Linked DNA regions of Homo sapiens: regions 2, 3 and 4 are each linked to region 1. Evidence: promoter capture Hi-C in human tissues and cell types (Jung and others, 2019). All regions are on one chromosome and are shown on one strand. Each heading gives the region's core, a stretch centred on a gene start or on the middle of the fragment in contact. The rest is flanking DNA. Distances are from core to core; before and after follow the strand shown. Region 1 holds the start of SLC30A2 (solute carrier family 30 member 2). Region 2 holds the start of CATSPER4 (cation channel sperm associated 4). Region 3 overlaps CEP85 (centrosomal protein 85). Region 4 overlaps MTFR1L (mitochondrial fission regulator 1 like).

Evidence for each region. Contacts are between HindIII fragments. The study calls those that stand out against the background at their distance.
Region 2: a contact is called between the fragment with the promoter of CATSPER4 here and the fragment with the promoter of SLC30A2 in region 1, in 1 of the 25 tissues and cell types used here (adrenal gland).
Region 3: a contact is called between a fragment that was not itself captured here and the fragment with the promoter of SLC30A2 in region 1, in 4 of the 25 tissues and cell types used here (dorsolateral prefrontal cortex, mesenchymal stem cells, psoas muscle and 1 more).
Region 4: a contact is called between a fragment that was not itself captured here and the fragment with the promoter of SLC30A2 in region 1, in 1 of the 25 tissues and cell types used here (dorsolateral prefrontal cortex).

Annotation. Positions count from the first base shown.
Region 1 is chr1:26,044,375-26,047,914 of GRCh38, forward strand. It overlaps SLC30A2 (solute carrier family 30 member 2), which reads right to left and starts at 1,744. Exons shown (of 8, transcript NM_001004434.3): 1 at 1,473-1,744; 2 at 623-843; 3 at 1-70. The coding sequence starts at 1,522. RefSeq lists an enhancer at 775-1,343. The HindIII fragment of the contact is 12,838 bases long and covers 1-3,540 here.
Region 2 is chr1:26,189,204-26,193,190 of GRCh38, forward strand. It overlaps CATSPER4 (cation channel sperm associated 4), which reads left to right and starts at 1,399. Exons shown (of 10, transcript NM_198137.2): 1 at 1,399-1,637; 2 at 2,084-2,227. The coding sequence starts at 1,425. It overlaps CNKSR1 (connector enhancer of kinase suppressor of Ras 1), which reads left to right. Exons shown (of 21, transcript NM_006314.3): 21 at 76-681. The coding sequence ends at 345. RefSeq lists an enhancer at 1,285-2,102. The HindIII fragment of the contact is 15,004 bases long and covers 1-3,987 here.
Region 3 is chr1:26,251,720-26,255,398 of GRCh38, forward strand. CEP85 (centrosomal protein 85) reads left to right here. Exons shown (of 14, transcript NM_001319944.2): 4 at 3,452-3,679. Among named protein-coding and RNA genes, the nearest start is that of CEP85, 19 kb to the left of the region's middle. The HindIII fragment of the contact is 5,989 bases long and covers 1-3,679 here.
Region 4 is chr1:25,830,743-25,834,585 of GRCh38, forward strand. It overlaps MTFR1L (mitochondrial fission regulator 1 like), which reads left to right. Exons shown (of 7, transcript NM_001099625.2): 7 at 1,179-2,196. The coding sequence ends at 1,284. It overlaps AUNIP (aurora kinase A and ninein interacting protein), which reads right to left. Exons shown (of 3, transcript NM_024037.3): 3 at 3,264-3,843. Among named protein-coding and RNA genes, the nearest start is that of MTFR1L, 13 kb to the left of the region's middle. The HindIII fragment of the contact is 3,867 bases long and covers 24-3,843 here.

The DNA.
Region 1 (3,540 bases), core at 494-2,993:
ATGCTGGCAAAGTCAGTGAGCAGGTGTGCTGCGTCAGTCATGACAGCCAAGCTGTGTGCCAGGTACCCACCTGCAGGGTGGAGGGTCCTTATCAGCTCCCCCAGAGAGCTGGCTCCCAAGACTGTGTGTGCAGCAGGGAGACCACAGGCTCTGGAAGAGGACATTCTGGGCTCAAGATCTCTCTACCCATGAGCTGTACCACCGTGACAAGTGACCTACTCTCTCTGAGCCTCAACTTCCACTCTCTGTGAAATGGGCCACCAATATCTACTTAGAGGGTGAATGTGCACATCAAGTTCAAATAGGGACTGGAAAACATAGCAGATACTCAGTAAATGCTCTTCCCTTCTAGGAATTCAGGCCTTCCCTTAGCTACGAGTTGTGCGTGATCTTTGGCAAGTTACTTCACCTGAACATGCCTCAGTTTCATCATCTGTAAAGTAAGGAGAATAACGTCACCCATGTGAGAACACAGGTTGTTGTTAGACCTGCATCAGATAATGTGTATATAAAGGCTTACTGTAGTGTGTGTTCAGTAATTGGGGCTTTTAGTGTCAGTATTGCTGGGAACATCCAGTCTATCCATGCACCAACTTCATTTAATTAGCCCAAAAGTGCTTACCAACGACTTCTCCGATCATGAACAACAGGCAGATGGCAGAGGCTACATACAGCTGGCGCTGGGCCTTCCCCTTCTTGGGGTCACAGTGACTGTCAGGACCCTTCTGAGCATGGCAGTGATGGTTGCTCTGGGCAGCCAGCTCAATGGCCTGCAAGTCCAGGCCAGGTCGGGGCAGAGGAATCCAGCCAGCCCCTTCCTGCCACAGAGATCCCGTGTATGACCTGGCCAGAGGGGAAGAGAGGGAACGCTCAGCTCTGAGATGAGGTAAGGAGGGCCGACTCTAGTCCCATTTCTCTGTGAGGCCTTGTGTCCACTGGGAAAAATAGCTAAGGACGCTCCGAGCTCGACAAACCAGAGGTGAGAAGCCTGTATTCAGACGGGGATGATAGGGGAATGGGAGTCCTGGGGCCCGGGGCCCTTCAGAGGCCAGAGGAGGTGAAGACCCTGGGAACCGGCCAAGGGGCGTGCTGTCCAGTGGAGCGCGGGGAAGGAACAGAGCGCAGGCTCTGGGAGAACAGCAGGCCCCCTCCAGCGCACTTGGGACACAGGGCCTCCCCGGGGCGGGGCTGCCTGGGGCAAAGTGCTGGGCGGGGCGGGACTCCAGGCATGGGAACCGCCAATCCCCCGGCCCCAGGCCCCCCGCGGGCAGGGGTCAGAATCTGGGCTGCGCCCCAAGGGAGAGACGGTCCTTGGGCCACAGCCCATTATCTTCGTTCCCTCACCTCACCCCACCCCTCCTGCATGGTCCCAGCTCAAGCCGCAGCCAAAACCAACCACTGCTAGGATGGCAAATGCGGAGGTGCGTCGGCTGCCGCCAAAATTCCCGCCCGTCCCCAGGCTCTCGCCTTACCGGATTGCCGGCCTGGCGTCCAACAGATGCTGCTTCTCCTTGGCCTCCATGCAGTCCCGCGCCGAGTCCCGGCAGCCGCGCAGCCGCCCCGCCGAGTGCGCCCTGAAAGTTGCGCGCGGGACTCCGGGTGGCGCTCACCCACCTGCCCCGAGGGCCCCGCGAGGTGCGCTCACTCCGGCCCGGCTCCTGCGGCCCCTGAGCTCCCCCGGCTCCCGCTGCGGCTGCAGCTCCGGCTCTGGCTCCGCGTGCCAAGCGCTCCCGTGTCTCGGGTCAGCCGCTGCGCCCCGCGGCCGCCGGCTTTATCCGGCCCTCGCCAACCCGTGTGAAGCTGCCGTCGGCGCGTCGTGTGCAAAAGCCCGCGGGGAAGGGGGGGCGGTCGCCGGCTGCAAAAGGCCCGGCTGTGGCCCCGCACACCTGTGCCTGCGCCCATGGGGCCCGCGGAGCCCACCTGCCGGCCGCGAGAAGTTTGCCAGCCTTCGCCCGGCGCGGCGCCGGGTGTTGCTGAGTGAGGACGGGGTGACGCCTGCGCCCCCTCTCCCGCGCGGGGTGCGCCGCCTCGCCGCCGAAAAGTTCTCGACTTTAGTTTGTAGAAATCCGCTTTGGTGGTCCCGACGGCAGGAATGTGGCTCCTTGCCTCGGAAGAGGGTCTCCAGAGGCTACTGGGGCCGCGTCTGCCCCCTCCGACTGGCGGCTGCCCTGGGCTTGATCATGTTCCCCTCTCAGGCCGGAGACCCCCCGAGGTCGGCTTGCGTTCCTGTCCTCCTGCTAGGAGGGTCCTGGGGTGGGGTGGGCTGCGCCGCCCTCAGGCTGGGGCAGTGTCTCTCCCTAGGACCGGCTGGGACTGATCGACCCATCCTCGCCACTGAAGCAGCGCCAGCTCCTCCTCTCCTGCGCGCAGGAGAATCTGGAGTGGCCGGCTTTGTCTCCACCCGCACAGAGAACAGTGTCATCGGCAGTCACCATCGGAGCAGAGACGACCACTGCCACTGCTGCCACCCCTTCTCCCCTCCCCCGCAGCGGCTCCTGGGAGCCCCAGGAAGCCTGACAAGCAAGCCTGGGAGATGCAGGCCGGAGGTGCCACCGTGTTGGTACCGCTGGGAGAAGCCCTGTCCTTCCTGGCCAGCTTGGTGCCCCACCCACTTGAAGCAGCCTCCTTCCCTGGCGGTTCTTGGGGATTGGGGAGCCTGTGGCCCCCACGCTGGCCTCTGACAGGTGCCCTCTGTGTAGAAAGAAGCTGCTGGAGACCTCCCTGTCTGGTCAATTCGTCTCCCCAGCACCCTTTGTCGCTAGGACCATAGGCTTGGTGGGTATGGCCTTTCACAGAGCCAAGAGTCAGAGGTGCAGGCCTCTTGCCCACACCACTGGGGACAGGAAGGGGCTCTTTCAGTCTCTCATCTTGTAGGAGACGGGGTGCCAGGAGTGAGGATGTGAGGTGCACCCGCTCTGCTTGGGTCCTCACTGAGTGCCTCTCTGCTTCTCTGGACTCTGGTTTTCTTCTGGAAAACCTCAGACACCCTGGTTTTCTCCAGGTCTGTCTACTCTGAGCACCAGCAGGCTCAGCATTACCTGGAGAAGGTGTTACAACGCAGGTTACAGGTCCCTGCATCAGACCAACCGAACCAGAATCTCTGGGTGTGGAGCCTGAATATTTCCAGGATTCAGTAGGTCTGGGGCAGGGCCTGGGAATCTGTATTTATAAAATTCTCTGGTGCTATTGTGGCATCATTGTTCATTTTTATGTATAGTGGTTTTTTTGTTTGTTTGTTTTTGAGACAGAGTTTCATTTCTGTCTCTGTCGCCCAGGCTCGACTGCAATCTCAGCTCACTGCAATCTCTGCTTCCCGGATTCAAGTGATTCTCCTGCCTCAGCTTCCTGAGTAGCTGGGATTACAGGTGCCCACGACCATGCCAAGCTAATTTTTGTATTTTTAGTACAGACAGGGTTTCACCATGTTGGCCAGGCTGGTCCTGAGGTTATGATTTTTTTCAAAGAACACCTTTATCTAAAGTATTTAGGGATAAAATGTCATCTGGGTTTTGCCTTAAAATAATCCCAGTGGGGAGAGTA
Region 2 (3,987 bases), core at 149-2,648, 140 kb after region 1:
GGAGTGAAGTCTGGCCTCGGGCTCTGCCCACTTCCCTGGGTGATCATGGTCCCTTAGCCCCTCCTCTCCACACAGGCAAAGCTGCAGGAGCTGCAGGTCCTAGAAGAAGTGCTGGGTGACCCTGAGCTGACAGGAGAGAAGTTCCGCCAGTGGAAGGAGCAGAACCGGGAGCTGTACTCAGAGGGCCTGGGGGCCTGGGGAGTGGCACAGGCTGAAGGCAGCTCCCACATCTTGACCTCTGACTCCACAGAACAGTCCCCCCACTCCCTGCCCTCTGACCCTGAAGAGCACTCCCATCTCTGCCCCCTGACCTCAGAGAGCAGCCTCCGACCTCCTGACCTCTGACCCTGGCCAGCACTCTAGCTCCTGACCTTTGACCCGAGGGCCACCTCAACCCCAGCTTCTGACGTGTCCAGGACAGAGCATCCCTGGATTCTGTTCAGGGTGGGAAGTAGTACTGCTAGTCATGGTCTCACCCCGAGCTGACCCCTCTGCCTGGGCTTTGTGCCACCCTCTCCCTTGCCAAAGAAGAAACTCTCCCCCCAAATCCTCCAACCTCTGGGGCCACAGCCCTGCCCCTCCAGTTCCTTGGCAGTTCTCCCCCAAACCAGGTCTGTACAGGTGTTCTTTATTTTACATGAGGGCTACTTTCCAACCAAATAAAGTCAATTTTTCTAAGAATGAGTCTACATGTAACTTTACTTCCATATTCGAATTGGAAATCTGCCCCCCTGTGGGGACTGGGGTGAGTGCTCTTGGCCAGAGGGTGGGTGGCAGACCCTTCGTGCAGCCCGTTGGCCTGGGCTCTGTACCCGAGCTCCAAGCCTGCCAGGATGGTGGGGGATGACCCATGGCTAATGAGGGCTCCGACTCATGTCCACCTCTCCCCAGCTCTTTGAAGGCTAATGGTGATCTCCTACCCCATTCCCGGGGGGCACACAATGAGAAACTTCCACTTTGTAGATGGGGAAATGCACTTTGCACGGAAAGGTGGTGGGGACAGTCCTGGAGACTGGGCTGGTAGGACAGGGCAGCTGGTGGGGAAGGGTGCAGGTTGAGGTCTGCCCTGGGAAGGCCCTGGGGAAAACACTTCTCTCCTTCACTCCTCATTCCAGCCTCACCTCCACCTCCTGGATCCAAGGCAGGGACATGTCCCTGTGACTCCATTCAGGCTGCACGGGAAATCTGACCTGCTCCCATCAGCCTCTGACTTCCAACCCCAGCCCAGCATCCCCACAGCATCCCCAGACTTCCTCTGTGGGATGCGGAGGAGGGCCAATGGGAGGAGCTTCTCTCCAGGTTGGAATTCCTCAGTAGAATGCAGACGGCTGGAGGTCACAGAGGCCTCTGTGATATCACCACGAGGGGGAGTGAGACCACTTGGAGTGAAGATTCTTTGAGGAGAAGGAAGAGACTGAGCAAACATGAGGGATAATGAAAAGGCCTGGTGGCAGCAATGGACCTCCCATACAGGCCTCGAGGGGTGGGGCGGGACTCAGGAGGACCGTATGGGGTTTGGAGGGGCAGTAGCTGCACTGAGGGGCCGCCCCTCTCCCCTGCAGAGTACCATTCACGAGTCCTACGGTCGGCCAGAGGAGCAAGTGCTCATCAACCGCCAGGAAATCACGAACAAAGCGGTAAGGATAGCTCTCGCCCCACAGTGGCCCCTTCTGCAGCTGTGCTCATGGGCAGCAGGCCCTCATGGTAACTCTGCCCCTCTACCCTCTAAACGCCCCCAGAAGACCCTCCCTAGCACTGATCCCTGAGTGACTGCCCATGATATGTTAGTAACTCTCTGGCAATGCCCCCCATAGGAACCCTTATATAACGATCATCTTCACTATCAGAGAGCCCAAAGAGATTCTCTGGCAATGACTTCCACAAAATCCCCCGATAGTAACCCACTTTTAGTGGCCATTTAGATAGTGATCTCTACACTGATGTCTCCATTCCATGATCCACTCTCAGATGATTTCCCCCCTCTAGAGTGGGCCCCAGGAACCCCCATTCTCTAAGAGCAAACCCCCAGGCAGAGGCTTCCTATGGTGACACCTGCCTGAAGGAAGGTCCTGCCCTCTTCCAGGACGCCTGGGACATGCAGGAGTTCATCACTCACATGTACATCAAGCAGCTGCTCCGACACCCCGCCTTCCAACTGCTGCTGGCCCTGCTGCTGGTGATCAATGCCATCACCATCGCTCTCCGTACCAACTCCTACCTGGACCAGGTGGGATGCCAGCATGACCTCTGCCCCACTAACCCTAATGGGGGGCCTGGGGCAAGAACTCTTCCGGCCTCAGGCTCCTCATCTGTCTATGATGGTTGGATTGGATGCTCTTCAAGGGTCTGTCAGCTCTGACCTTCTAGGAATCTGGAGATCAAGGAAGACTTCATGATGGAGAGGGCTCTGCAGCCTGGCTTTGAGGAATGCATTGGATTTGTACAGGAGGGACAGGAGAAGAATGGTGTGAGCAGAGGGAGGCAAATGGGTGCCTTGTGGAGAAGGGGTATCCAATTCTAACCAGCAGTCACTAAGGGAGAATCACTCAGTGCCAGGCACTGACTGTGCAGACTGCCAGGGTCCCAGGGATAATAAGCACAACTGGGTCCTGTCTCAGACACACAGAAACTGTCATTACAAGTGCTCAAGTAGCACCCAGAGTACATGGAGGCTCAACGAAGGCACTCGAACCTAATCTCAGGGGTCAGAGCTGGCTTCCTGGAGAAAGTGACACTGGAGCTGAGAGTAAAGAAGTAGGATGTGATCTCAGTCACCACAACAAAGAAACAGAAAAAAAGAGCACGTAGGAGTTGGCCAGGCAAAGAGAGGTGGGGGAGACTTTTTGGGGAAAAGAAACAGCATGTGAGAGACTTCTCTGTGTCCAACTTGAAGTTTAGTGTGACTTATCCTTGATGTTTTAATTTCTTTTTTTTTTTTTTTAGAGACAAGGTCTCACTCTGTCACCCAGGCTGGTGTGCAGTGGCGCCATCTTGGCTCAATGCAGCCTTGAACTCCTGGACTCAAGTGATCCTCCTGCCTCAGCCTCCCAAGTAGCTAGGACTACAGGCACGAGCTACCATGCCTAATTAAAAAAATGTTTTTGAGCCAGGCGCAGTGGTTCATGCCTGTAATCCCAACACTTTGGCAGGCCAAAGTGGGTGGATCACCTGAGGTCAGGAGTTCAAGACCAGCCTGGCCAACATGGTGAAACCCCGTCTCTATTAAAAATACAAAAATTAGCCAGGCATGGTGGTGGGCGCCTATAATCCCAGCCACTTGAGAGGCTGAGGCAGGATAATCGCTTGAAGCAGGGAGGCGGAGGTTGCGGTGAGCCGAGTTTGTGCCACTGCACTCCAGCCTGGGCGACAGAGCGAGACTCTATCTCAAAAAAAAAATTTTTTTTGTAGAGACAGGTTCTCGCTCTGTCGCCCAGGCTGGTCTGGAACTCCTGGGCTCAAGCAATCCTCCAGCCTTGGCCTCCCAAAGTGCTGAGATTATAGGTGTGAGCCACCATGCTGGGCTGAGGACTATTTAGAATGCTTTTTTGAATAATGGTGTGGATGTCCTATTGTCTCCAGTGGCCATATGTGACAGTGGGCCCTAAGGCACTGAGTCTGTTGCACTTTGGGGTAAAGCGCACTTTTGGGGAGGACACTTTGAGAGGTCAAGACAGGCAGATCACTTGAGGTCAAGGGTTCGAGACCAGCCTGACCAACGTGGTGAAACCCCATCTCTACAAAAATACAAAATTAGCCAGGCATGGTGCGCACGCCTATAATCCCAGCTACTTGGGAGGCTGACGTAGGAGAATCGCTTGAACCCAGGAGGCGGAGTTTGCAGTGAGCTGAGATGTCACATTAAAAAAAAAAAGAAAGAAAGGGAGGAGACACGGTGACTTGGGTGACTGCTAGGTGGAGTCGGGCACTATGGGGGCTGTTAGTGGGGTCGCAGCCATAAGGAAGCTGAAGGAGTTTCGAGGTTGAGAG
Region 3 (3,679 bases), core at 1,103-3,602, 210 kb after region 1:
CTTTCAAACCACAGCAGGGGGTGTGGGCTCAAAACTGAATTTGGTGAATCTAGAGAGAGTGGTGCTATGGATGGAGACTGGAAGGAGGTATTGCAAAGTTCATGGTAGCAACCCCTCATGTGCTACAACCTCACAGTCTTCTGTTTTGTAATTACACCGTGGGAGCAGTGACCCTTGGTAAGAACTGATAACTATGGTGCTGTTATGGAGGATTTAAAACATATTGCTTATGGTTAAGCACGGTGGCTCATCCCTGTAATCCCAGCACTTTGGGAGGCCGAGACAGGTGAATCACTTGAGGTTAGGAATTCAAGACCAGCCTGGCCAACATGGTGAAACCCCGTCTACTAAAAATACAAAAATTAGCCAGGCATGGTGGCGGGCTCCTGTAATCCCAGCTACTCGAGAGGCTGAGGCAGAAGAGTCGCTTGAACCCAGGAGGCAGAGGTTGCGGTGAGCCAAGATCGTGCCACTGCACTCCAGCCTGGACAACAGAGTGAGTGAGACCCCATCTCAAAAAAGAAAAAATTGGGCCGGGGGCAGTGGCTCACACCTGTAATCCCAGCACTTTGGGAGGCCGAGGCGGGCGGATCACCTGAGGTTGGGAGTTCAAGACCAGCCTGACCAGCATGGAGAAGCCCTGTCTCTACTAAAAATACAAAATTAGCCGGGCGTGGTGGAGCATGCCTTTAATCCCAGCTACTTGGGAGGCTGAGGCAGGAGAATCGCTTGAACCCAGGAGGAGGAGGTTGTGGTGAGCCAAGATCGCGCCATTGCACTCCAGCCTGGGCAACAAGAGTGAAATTCCGGCTCCAAAAAATAAAACAAAAAATTGTATTGCTTACTAGTCTTTGAAGTCTTTATCACTAGCAGTCTGCCTTAACCTTGTGTACTAGTCCTATATTTAAGTTGTGAGACATCAGAAACTGGGTCCTTTAACTGAGAAATTTCTTTCTTGGTCCTGAGAGACTAATGCATGTTATCAGAACTTATTCAGGTTTTTGTTTTGTTACGTGTGTGTGTGTTTTTTTAGTGTGGCCTTTTATATATCCCCAAGATCATCTTCAGTATAGCAAATTAGATACTATGCATGTAATATAAGGCTTGCACGTCTTTTTTTAAAGTATTTATTCCTCCTGTCTAACCGAAATGTTTTACCCTTTGATCAGCATCTCTCGATTCCCCCTGCTCCCAGCTTCTGGTAACCACAATTATTCTCTCTGTTTCTATGTGTCGAGGTTTTTTTTAGCTTCCACATATAAGTAAGAACGTGCAGTATTTGTCATTTTGTGCCTGGCTTATTTCTCTTAGTGTCCTCCAGTTTCATCCATGTTGTTGCAAGTGACACAATTGACATCTTTTATAAGGCTGGTATTCCGTTGTGTAATATACTGCATTTTCCTTATCTGTTCGTCTGTTGATTCTATAACTTGGCTATTGTGAATAATTACTCAGTAAACATGGGATTGTAGATATCTCTTGGACATACATATTTCATATCGTTTGGATATATACCCAGAAGTGGATTGCTGGATCATATGGTAACTATTTTTAGTTTTTTGAGGAGCTACATACTCCATTGTTTTCCACAGTGGCTGTGTTACATTCCCCCCAACTGTGTACTAGAGTTCCCTTTTCTCTGCATCCTCTCCAAACTTGTTATCTTTCATCTTTTTTTTTTTTTTTTTGAGATGGAGTCTCACTCTGTCGCCCAGGCTGGAGTGCAGTAGTGCGATCCTGGCTCATTGCAACCTCCACCTCCTGGGTTCAAGCGATCCTCCTGCCTCAGCCTCCCGAATAGCTGGGACTACAGGCGCGTGCCACCATACCTGGCTAATATTTTGTATTTTTAGTAGAGACAGGGTTTCACCGTGTTAGCCAGGATGGTTTCGATCTCCTGACCTCATGATCCCCCCTCCTCAGCCTCCCAAAGTGCTGGGGATTACAGGCATGAGCCACTGCGCCCGGCCTCATCTTTTTCATCATAGCCATTCTGACAGGTGTGAGGTGGCTTGCCCATATTTTTAAAGAGTTGCTTAAGGCCGGGCATGGTGGCTCACACCTGTAATCCTAGCACTTTGGGAGGCTGAGGCAGGTGGATCACTTGAGCCCATGAGTTCGAGACCAGTCTGGGCAACATGGCGAAACCCCATCTCTCCTAAAAATACAAAAACTGAGGTGGGAAGATCACCTGAGCCTGGGGAGGTCGAGGCTGCAGTGAACTGTGATCACGCCACTGTGCTCCAGCCTGGGTGACAGAGTGAGACCCCATTTCAAAAAAAAAAGTTGTTTAATGAGAAGGTCGTAGCTGATCTATACTTACATAATTCTGGGAACAATTATAGTATTTGTTGTTGTTATCTGAGTGTTCTCTGTGTTGGTTGCTGGGGAGAAAAAGAAACAAGTTGGTAGTCGCTCTTCTCCGTGGTAGATATGCTTGATTTGGGAACGAGTACTGAATATAGTTGAAAAGAGAAGAAATTGGTATTCCTTATTTCCTTATTCAGTTTTCTGCCTGCTGAAAGCAATAAGTATGTTACCTCACATTCCTCCCTTATTGTTTGCTTGCAGTAGTCCCCCTCAGAGTAGTACTTGAAAGTTGGAAATAGGTAGAAATGTGAACCTTGTATAGTAGGGCTAATCAAGGGTTGTCTCCCAAGACCAGGCAGGAGCCAAAGGAAACACAAATTCAGTCTGAAGGAAAAGTTAAAAAAAAAAAAACACAGTTGGGTACACACAAGGGGGCAAGTGAAAGGCAAAATATAAAATAGAGGATTTCAGTGTGTACCCAATTGAGAGTGCTCACTGTGCTAGAGTGAAACCTGAGAGTTACTAAGAATAACTTCACATATCCAGGCAGTCAGGTTTGGGGTATGGGAGAGAGAACAGAATCCTGCCTCAGATGCCATACTCCCTGTCCTGCATACTGAGCAAGACTGTCTAGTTCGCTTCATTCTTCAGATAGTTTGGACTCGTTGCTCACCTTCCTGGGGGAGCTTTTGGAGGTCGCAGAAGATTCTGGTGACTCTTGGAAAGGATATTTTTATTAGATTTGATTATAGCTGAGAGTTGTCCAGCTTCCAGAAGAGTAGGACCTAACTCATTTTCCTTAAGTAAGTAATTTGTTTTAAAGTTTAAATTTTTTAAAAAACTTTTTAAAAGTTTTTCAGCTTTGTCTGTTGACTGACAAGATTTTTTTTATTCCAGTACAAAGGACTAAGTTAAAAGTGAAGTCATTATTGCCTTTTGTTAGTTTACCTTGTGAATGGCATTTGAGATCCTGGAACATACATCTCCCAGTTTGGTTGCCGTTTCTTTCTGCCTGATACTTTTGATGATGGTGCTCTCTCTGCTTGGTCTCAGGACAGGCCGAGAGCTTCTGGCATAGCATTCAAACTCAAGAAAGCTTGCTACTTCAATTTTTACTTATGGAAGACTATTCTCTCCCCAGATTTTTGCAGCTCAAGTGGCAGTCCTCCTTTCCAGCCCATCAAAAGCCACGTAACCATTCCAACAGCCCATGTGATGCCTTCTACTTTAGGGACCTCTCCTGCCAAGCCAAATTCTACACCTGTTGGACCCTCTTCCTCTAAACTCCCTTTGTCAGGGTTGGCTGAAAGTGTGGGAATGACAAGAAATGGAGACCTCGGTGCAATGAAACATTCTCCAGGCCTATCTA
Region 4 (3,843 bases), core at 707-3,206, 210 kb before region 1:
AAGTTACTTGCCCTGGATCCCTTTTTGTCTCCTGGGATCCATTTCCCTCTGAAAAGTAGACCAGGCTAAGTGACTCCCTCATTGCTTCCTGGCAGTTGACCCATTTAGGGAAGTCACTCTTAACCTTCCTTCACTGGCCCTAGTCAGGTTGGTCATACTCACCCATATCTCTTTGGTCTTCCACATTCCCAAATTCAGTTGCTGCTGTTTTTGGTCTTCTCTGAGCTGTCTTCTTCTGAACAAAATGTTTTATAGGTTGACTCTCAAACTTTCTCTTACTTGCCTTTTGGACCAAATTAGATTCAAGACCCTTATTGCTAGCCCCCTCCTCCCACTTGTGTCCTCAGATCAGAAGGAGCTGGGTCAGTGAATAAGAATGGGAAAGTACCCCAGTCAGCAAAGGTTCAGATATGTCACCAACCAAACGCAGTCCCTCTTGTTTTTGCTTTGAAGGTTGAATAGTCAGTCTTGGCTCTTATATTTAGCTTAATCACCAGTAAAACACCTTCATGATGAATGTATATAAGTTCACTAGGATTTCAAGCAACTATTTTCCAGGTATCTAGGACCCTCTTATATGATGTATCAGATAACTTGGGCCTACTTCAGTCTGGAGTTGGTTTTGTTCCCATGAGTTTCTTATGTGAATGTTTTGCTCTAATTCTGGCTCTCATAAAAAATCATCTCCCCTGAAGGGGAGACCCGGTGGTAGGAAATCCCAAGCACACCTTTTCTCCAGAACTATCAAGGGTCAGAATAGCCAAGAGTCATCAGTCACTTCCCCTGCTGACCCTCTGGGGAAATGCTACTAAGAAAACAGGGCCAGAAGGCAGAAGCTTAGCCACCAGAGGCCAACTCTAACAGACTGATGGTCCTTTACTTTGCCCATACTTTATAGCTATTTCAGGAAATAGTAAAGCATTCTAGTTAATAGATGAGATCTGGAACCAGCTAGTTTGGTTCTGAACTCTGGATTCACCGCTTACTTGCTGAGTGACTAGTGACCTTGGGCAACTTGTATAACCTTTCTGTGCTTCAATTTCCTTATCTGTGAAAGGGAATTGTAATGGCACCTACCTCGTAAGATTGTTGTGAGGATTCAACGAGATAATGTATTCAAAAGATATACAGCACTACACAGGAAAGAGTAAGTACTCAAGCTATTATTGTGTCTCTAGGAACCGGAGTTTATTGAAGGAGGAAGACCCTGCTGTGCTTATCTCTGAGGTCCTAAGGAGGAAGTTTGCTCTAAAGGAAGAAGATATCAGTAGAAAAGGAAATTGACAACCCTCAGCTCTGCAAACTCAGTCTCATGCTCCTGGAATACCTTCAATAGCTGCCTTCCTCACCGCAGATGTTTCTGCCTCTTAAGGATAGATCTTCTGCAACAGTCTTGCTGACAAGCTAGAGCTTGGACTGAAAGAGAAGAGCTGGATTATATATTTCCCAGACTTCAAACCCTAGCAGAAGCTAAGGCTTGTGATTTGACCTGAGACATTTGTTTCAGGTAATCGTGTAGAATGAAGTATCTTAGTTTAAAGGGTAAGAGAGAAGTTGTTTCTGGTTTTTCCTTGCCCCTGTGTGAAAATAGGTCCTAAATGACTGACTTCACTGCATTAGACCCTATAGCTGGTCTCACAAGACACTTTGTGCCCAGCTGTCACTCACTCAGCAGCTTCCTTGCAGCAGAGCAGGGCTGAGGGGAAGGGGCTATGAATGTTTGTATACATGTTCACAGGGCACGGAAAATCTTATGCTGCTCCGTCATAAACCTACACCAATGCCCAGCAATCACCCTCCTCACTTCCTTGTCTAGATGTAGAGGTCAGGCTGCTGAACCAGCCAACACATGGGCTACTGCTGGGAAGCCTGGGCTGTTTTTTTTCTTAAACACATTTTATATTACTGAACAACCAAATCTACCCTCCACGGCCCTGAGGCCTTATCAGTTCCACTGATTAAAAACTTTCTCTTCCACGGACTTTAAGCCCGGTAGGAAAGAGAGAGGAGGAGGGGGAAAGAGCAAACCATCTTTCTTCCAGGCCCTTGACTGCTCCTTTGGGCTGGGCCAAGGTTTGTATGTACCACACCATGCATGACTCAGATGCCCTCAGGTCCCTTTCTCTATGGTATGTATACTGCTTGTGTTTGGGTTGAAGCACTACCTGACATTAAAGGAAGGACTTGGAGAGAGAATGCATTTGCTGTGTCCATCTCTTGAGTTGCGATTACCCAGTATCCTTCAGGGGCATAGGATTATTGTTAATTTTAAGGTGTATGAACTTAAACAGGCTACTGGCTTCTCCTCTTTCCTTATAAGGTCCTGCCCTTCTAGGGGGTTTCTTCCCCCTTTCTGTAGAGATTTTGCCCTATACTCTTTTTCTTTTTTTTAGAAACAGTATCTAGCTCTGTCATGCCGGAGTGCAGTGGTGGGATCATTAGCTAACTGCAGCCTCCAAACTCCTGGGCTCAAGTGAGCCTCCCACCTTAGCCTCCTGAGTAGCTGGGACTACAGGTATGCACCACCACACCCAGGAAATTTTTAAATTTTTTTGTAGCGATGGGGTCTTGCTATGTTGCCCAGGCTGGTCTTAAACTCCTGGTCTCAAGCAAACCTCCCACCTCAGCCTCCCAGAGCGTTGAGATTACAGACATGAGCCACCGCACTAAGCCCCATACATTCTTAAAAGCAGGTCTTCCAGGAAAATGACTGGAGAGATGACATACACGATAAAAGTAGAATTTAACATTTAAATTAGGCCAGGCACAGTGGCTCACACCTCTAATCACAGCACTTTGGGAGTTCAAGATCAGCCTGGGCAACAAAGCAAGACCTCATCTCTACAAAATATTTTAAAAATAATTAGCTGGGCATGGTGGCATGTGCCTATAGTTCAGCTACTCGGGAGGCTGAGGTGGGAGAATCACTTGCGCCCAGGAGGTCCAGGCTGCAGTGAACCGTGTTCATGCCACCACACTCCAGCCTGGGCAAGAGAGCGAGACCGTGTCTCAAAAAAATAAAATTTAAGTTAAAAAAAAAAAAAGAAGCAGTTCTCTTATAACCTTGCAAGTTTGTCCCTTAGAGGTTGTTTAAGCCTCTTAGATACCACATCAACAACAAGGAATAATGCCTTGGGTAGAAGACAGGTCAAACTAGACTCTGGTTCAGATCAGGCTCAGGGCAATGACAGCATATACTATTACAGTGTTGCCTTTTCAAAAATAAAATTGGTAATGGTTTAATTACCAATTATCACAAGAGCCACTTTGTAAACATTTATTTGGATTCATAGTTTTACAAAGGGGATTCCCTCCTATCTTGTGGGAAAAGGGTAACAGAGTCACATCCAGATTGTTGTACAGCTCAGGCTTTTTAAGGGAGATATTTAAACATAGAGTATATAACTTTAAAGTGCTGTACAGTTACCACAAAAATAAAATAGGAAACTAGCACCATTCTACCTCTCTTCTCTCCACACCTGGGTTGTGGGGAGATTTGCTAATCACTGAAAAAAAAGGGTCAAGAGTAATCATCCCAAGCTTAGGCTGATGTGGGTTAAGATCAGCCAGAGATTAAAAGCTCACACATCTGGCTGGGCGCGGTGGCTTATGCCTGTAATCTCAGCACTTTGGGAGGCTGAGGTGGGCGGATCAGGAGGTCAGGAGATGGAGACCATCCTGGCTAATATGGTGAAACCTCGTCTCTACTAAAAATCCAAAAAAAATTAGCTGGGCGTGGTGGCGCATGCCTGTAGTCCCTGCTATTCGGGAGGCTGAGGCAGGAGAATCGCTTGAATCCGGGAGACAGAGGGTGCAGTGAGCTGAGGTCGCACCACTGCACTC